Linked DNA regions of Homo sapiens: region 2 is linked to region 1. Evidence: promoter capture Hi-C in 16 types of primary human blood cells and fetal thymus (Javierre and others, 2016). All regions are on one chromosome and are shown on one strand. The core of a region is centred on a gene start or on the middle of the fragment in contact, and the rest is flanking DNA. Distances in the headings are between cores, read along the strand shown. Region 1 holds the start of VPS4B (vacuolar protein sorting 4 homolog B). Region 2 holds the start of TNFRSF11A (TNF receptor superfamily member 11a).

What was found. The method cuts DNA at HindIII sites, captures the fragments that hold promoters and counts their contacts. A CHiCAGO score of 5 or more calls a contact.
Region 2: the fragment with the promoter of TNFRSF11A here is called in contact with the fragment with the promoter of VPS4B in region 1 in 2 of 17 cell types (fetal thymus and total CD4 T cells); the score reaches 5.8 in fetal thymus.

What each region holds. Positions count from the first base shown.
Region 1 is chr18:63,420,997-63,424,015 of GRCh38, reverse strand. It overlaps VPS4B (vacuolar protein sorting 4 homolog B), which reads left to right and starts at 1,540. Exons shown (of 11, transcript NM_004869.4): 1 at 1,540-1,783. The coding sequence starts at 1,757. RefSeq lists an enhancer at 1,373-1,672. The HindIII fragment of the contact is 6,978 bases long and covers 1-3,019 here.
Region 2 is chr18:62,323,888-62,326,906 of GRCh38, reverse strand. It overlaps TNFRSF11A (TNF receptor superfamily member 11a), which reads right to left and starts at 1,597. Exons shown (of 10, transcript NM_003839.4): 1 at 1,480-1,597. The coding sequence starts at 1,554. RefSeq lists silencers at 1,506-1,705, 1,756-1,965. The HindIII fragment of the contact is 5,361 bases long and covers 1-2,675 here.

The sequences.
Region 1 (3,019 bases), core at 291-2,790:
TCAGTTTCTCCCACAGTTAGTTCAGCCTATGCTCAGGAATGTACAAGGACAGCTTGGAGGTTAAAAGTAAGATGGAGTTGGTTAAGTTAGATCTCTTTCACTGTCTCAGTCATCATTTTGCGAAGGCAAATTCACAAGTGGGAAGAAAGGACGGGTAGATGCAGGGCAGAGAGAGGGCTCTGTGCTTCGAGCCTGGATGATACAGATTTGGCAATACTATTCTAAGGAGAGACCAGAGAAAGAAGTTTAGGGTAGAAGGTAATTAATTAGAGTATGTTGAATTTGTCTTGCAGAAAAACCCTGTGAAGGAAACCTCTGGGAGGCTGTTGTAAATGCTGGGCTGGGGATGGGGTGGGTCTAGAGATCCAGATTTGAAGCAATTTCTAGTCTATTGATAGCTGAAGCTCAAGAAGAGAGTTAGATGAGCAGAGGTGAAGAGAGAAGAGGACATCAGACTCTTGAGTAAATTCAGCTTAAGCTCAGGGAGGAGTAAGAAAGGGAGACAGTGAAGGAAGCAGATAAGGAATATTGGGAAGCTGGACAAACAAGAACTGGGTAGTTGACAATACCAATGAAGAGGGAAGAGGAGAGGACTTTAATTCTTTCGGAGATGCCAGATGAGAAAAAATTAAGAAATGAGTGAGAAAAAAATGATGGAGTGATTAAACATCTATGTTGCTTTCCTTTGAGAATGTTAACTATGAAAAGAAGAAAAGGGTGGTGGTGGCTGCAAACCATAGGAAGGCTGAGAAAGGGTTTTACTTTGGTTCTGCCTCTAATCCCTGACGCATTCAACCTCCTCAAGCCATTTGCTTGTAAACATAACTGGCATAAATAATATCTGATATGCCCATTTTACAGGACAAGTGCTTCCCTCTCAGACCACATACTCGAGGACAGCGGCCGTCCACGCCTTATTTACATTCATCTTCCCAACACAACAGTCATTTGGAAGATGCCGAGTGGCGTGGGAAGAACAAGCGGGAACGAGCGCCGACCCGCCCGCGGCCTGACTGCTAGCGCACCGCTGTGCGGCCGCCTCACCGCGCACTCCCTCCTGAATTATTCACCACCGAGACGAGGACGGTGATCGCCCCCATTCCACAGAGGACACGGAGTGAAGGCGCAGTCACAGGCCCAAAGCCCCCAGTCGGCGGGTCTTGGAAATGGACGACTTTTTCACTCAAAAGCTACGAGGCAACAAAGCATGTGGATGAGGAGGGAAGGGAGCCGGGGCCAATAATTCATCTCAAAGTAAAAGACGTCCCCGGGGGTGGGGAACAAACAAACAACAAAACCCGGCTCTGTGCTTCCGCGCTTGCGCTCTCCTAGGTCTGCCAGGCTGCCGCCCGCGCCTAGGCCAGAGTCTCAGTGCGCCTGCGCCGAGCCCGACTTCCGCCAGGGCTCGATTGGCTTCCAGGCTACTTCTCCCGGCCCAGGGAGGGCCTGCGCTGTGGCTAGAGAAGGGAGTCTGGTGACTGGGTGCGCGTGCTGATGACGAAATCGGAAGTGCCCGGAGCAGAGGCGGGACCAGAACCTAGAGGGCCTCGGGATTGCGGAAGTTTGGTGGGGAGGGTCGGAGCTCTGGTGGAGAGAGTGTTGTCTAAAACAAGTTCCGGAAGGGAGGCTGCCCTTCGCGGTCCGAGAACCACCGGCCTCCCCAGTTTGAGGGCTGTTACCCCGTGCGCGCTTCGACGTTGCTGCTGTTGGCTCTCCTCGCCCCTCGTTCCCTTGGGAACCGCCTGGGAACTCCGCCATGTCATCCACTTCGCCCAACCTCCAGGTATCATTGCTCATCTCCCGTCCCCCTAGGGAGCTGGGATCGAGGGGAGGCGCGAGAAGCGGGTGGGGGGCGGGGAGAAGGGAGGAAGCGGCCGCGCCTGTGGTCGAGGCGCAGGAGGGCGGGTCCGGGGACCTGCAGCAGGTGGGAGAGGGGCCCGTTTTCCAACGGAAAGGTCGTTTCTGGCCCGCTCTTGGGGTCTCCCGAGCTACTGGCTTTGTGAGACTCTTCACTTTTGTTGACACTTCCCGCTTCCAAACCAGCCAAGATCTGGGCAGGTTTCTCCAATCAGGGTTAACGGAGAAAGAAAGAACGTAATTTTTGCAAAGCCCTATTCTGGACCAGTTGAAGATAGGGTGGTCATAGTTCGGTCTTAGTTTCTCAAGCTGACAGCAGACCCCTTCATTCTGAGCTGTCAGGTGAGTAGAGATATGGGAACAGACCAAGAATCTGAGATTACAGCCAGCCTGCATGCAATCTCCGTGAAGTCATTGAATTTATGTGCACACTCCTGTGGCTCCCAGATGGTAGTGTGTAAGATCGAGGAGTATTCTTAAACCTCTGTGTGGCTCCACTTCCCCTCCTCTACCGCAATGAGCACAGTGTTTTGTACACAAATCATGGAATCTTAAGATTTTAGGCTTAATCGTTAGTCCTCTGTGGAATGGAATTCGTTCAGAAAAGAAATTTCTTAATGTAATGGTGTCTCCCATCCCCAGAATGGATCTAGGGCTTCAGTGGCGTTTAGAATGTAATGTGGCTTAATGTAGAGGACTCCCAGTCCAGTAAGTCAATAAGGCACAAAAGAGTAGCCTAAAATACTTGTATTGAGTCCCCGTCGTGGACTTCCGGTAGTTTGTTGAACAAGCAGTTATTGGAGTGCCTGACAGAGGCATCAAAGGTAATGGAAGAACTCCTTAACCCATGATAATTGATTCTGAAGAAAGACCACTCAAAGTAGACCCACTTAAACAGAGATTAAAATTTCACACACACATACACAAAAAGAGTGGGAAAGGAGGCTTGCTTGGGACTTTCATCTTGAAAATCGACCTAGAAGATTATTAAAATAATTGTTATCTTTCACAAAATATTATAATTGTATAATTGCAACAATGACTCATTTTGTGGAATAAGTCAAGTGTTGATTTGTCTGTGTTTTTTTCCTTTTCTTTTCTTTCTTTTTTTTTTTTTTTTTGAGACGGAGTCTTGCACGGTCGCCCAGGCTTGAGTGCAGTG
Region 2 (3,019 bases), core at 348-2,847, 1.1 Mb after region 1:
CTCCTGTTAGTCTGTCTTATATCAATTGAATTCGTGGCCCAGCCAAGGAATTCATAAGGTTCCTAGAAGGTTCGCTCCCCTAGAATTGGAAATGACCAATGCAAAAGTTTACATTTTTAAACATGCATAATGAAAGGGGCTTAAAGGCAAAAAGACGGGAAACAGCATTTGTTGAAAGGTCTCCCTGAAAAATAAACTTATTTTGATAGCATTTGTTGTTCATATTAGAACCGAACGCCTTTTATGCACATATGAATATGTCATTTTGCGACAGCAGTGAGAGATAATTTTGCAACTGCGTGGTCAGGCAGGTTTTTCTTAGGTGGCTAGCTGTTCGCTGAAACCCTGGTCCTTTGGTTCAAATAAGGTAGCACCCCGTTCAACCTGTTGAACACTTAATTAAGCAACACCTGAAGTGCTTAAAATGAAAAAATCCTTTAGACTTTTCCGCCTTCGTTTCCCTCAACCATACTGACAGACCCATACAATTGGGAATGAATCTTCCCTAGAATCTTTTGCTTCAGCCTTCAGTGCACCCACATTATTTCTGTCAAGGCTTTTCCCCTCTCTTCTCACCCAAACACGATTCTCCATGCGTCCCTCCCCACGCCTCTCCGGGTTCCGTGCCCGGCTGCGGAGGGACGGCAGCAGCCTAACCTAGTGTTAACAGAGGGGAAATCTGACCCAGCCGAAACCAAGAAAACCACCACTCGCCCTTCCCTGTGAGAGCTTTCAAGTTCGTATCAACGATTTTTAAAGCGTTTGTTGTGCTGGGTGTGCTTCCCTCTGCGGCCCTCCTCCACGAGGCAGAAAGTCCGTGCCTGGCTGCATTCGCTTGCTAACTGTACTGAGAAACCTGTTCCGAGAGGACCGGGAAGCCACTCGGGTCTGCGAGGGTCAAGTCCAGCATCCCCGGGGCGCGCGCGCAGTCTCTCCCCGCCGTGCGGGGCCTCCAGGCGAGCTGGCAGGGGTGTCCCCGAAGGGGCTCAGGGGAGGCAAAGGCAAGCCCGCAGTTCAGGGACGGAGGGAATCATGTCTCTTTCCGGGTGGAAATTTGGGACGGAGGCCACCCGGGAGAAATCGTATCGGGAACGGTTATCTGCCGCAAGTGAGGTGCCCACGGCGCTGTCTCCCGCGGCACCGCCCGGCGCAAGCGCTTAGTAGGTGCTCAAGAAGCATTTGGAGAAAATGACAGCATCAAAGCCTGCGGCTAAGAGGGGCTTTTGGAAGAGCCCGTTTCGGGTGTTGCGGTCCCGCCAACCTGCTCCTTCTGCGCCCCAGTTTCCCTCCGCTTGCCCTTTCCCGCCCTCCGCCGTCCAACTCTGGAAGCGCCTCCCCAGCTTCCCACGGCCTCCGCTCCCCAAAACTCCGGCTCCTCTCGGAAGGCGGAGGAGCCAGGATGCCGCCGGCCCCGGCCCTTCCCGGGGCTCCCGAGGAGGCGTCGGGCCGCGCGGCCCGGCAGGCGCGGGCGCTCCTTACCTGCAGCCGGGCGAGCAGCGCGCAGAGCAGCAGCAGCGCGAACAGCGGGCGGCGCCGCCGGGCGCGCGGGGCCATGGCGCGGGACAGGCTGGCGGGCGCCGCGGCCTCAGCGGCCTCTGTGGCCCAGCGGGCGCGGCTGCCGCGGCCCTGTGTGGTCCCGCCCCCGTGCCCCGCCCCGCACCTGCCCCCGCGCCGCCCTCCTGCGCCCCCCTCCGGCCGGGCCCGGCGGTGCCAGCCAGGTGGTGCCCAAGCTCCCCTGGTTTGCGGTGGGACGCGGGGCCCCGCTCGGGGAGGGGCCCCGGGGGTGTTCGCCGCGCCCGGTGCCTCCTTGGTCCGGTCTCCGCCCCTGGCCCAGGTGCTCGGGCTGCAGACAGGTTGGCGGGAGACCAGCCCTGGGTTGCCCTTCACGGCACTGGCTCCTGCCTTGCCGCACCCCAGGCCTGTGGGCCCCGCCTCCCGGGAAGGAATGGGGGCATCGGGGTGGTCCTGCTCCTGCCCCGCGCGCCCACCCTTCGAGGCCCGGCCTTCCGAAAGTGGATGCGCCACCGTCGAGAATGAACGGGAGGAGGATCCTTCCTGGAGATTTCGTCGACTGCAGTTAAGGCATCAACACAATACACCATCCGCCAATCTTCGTAAAATACTCCTCTTGTTCTTTGCTTCAAAATGTTGGGGCCAGCAGCCACTATCTCTTTTTCTTCTCCTGATCCTCTGCCTCCGCCCCTCACCCGTCCTGCACCCACCAAATTCTAGAAAGGCACCAGGCTCCGCCAGCCTTGAGGCGTCCCCCAGCCCCCATCACCACATTGGCCCTTTCAGACATAAAGTGGCCAGATGTCTGGGGCACAGTGTTACCTAAAAACTGAGGTCCGTTCTTCTGGTGCAGTAAGGCCAAGCCATCCGCACTAAGGTTTGCACTGGGAGAAAAGAGGGCGCTTATCTGCAGAGCTCCAGGCAAGGAGAATGGGGCAGCTCTTGCTTAAATCCTGACCTTCAGTTGGCTTGCAAGTAAGGATTTTTAAACGCAGGGTTAATTTCAAGAAAGCAGAAGTTACAGGCAAAATCATAATACACGGAGGTTGCACATTGGTTTGGTCTAACAAGCTGGGATATCTTGAAAATCTTTAAAGTGAGGGTGCTTATAGGTTATACATTCAAAGATTTTCTGACTTGCCATCAGTGAAGGAAGAGAAGCTTTGTTAAAAATTTGGGGTCAGCAAAAATGAATGTTAGCTCTGGCTCGTGGGTGTGACTTCCTCCTTGCCCTTCAGGAAGAAATTTAGAAGAAAGAATGGTGGTCAGTTCCGTCCTCATTTCCCCCTTGTCTGAGGTCTGCATGCCAGTGGATCTGTTTTGTTGGGGGTCTGGGTTTCTGAGAAACAATTCAGGGACATATGTTAAGATGTTATCTTTCGTTTCTATAGGGAATCTAACTTCCTTGGTTATTGTTTTAAGCTATAATTACCTTCTTGCTTATCAAGTTACTTATTTACTTCTTAGGGCTAGCTAGGTACCTGGAATTTCCCTTGAAGGAACTCAA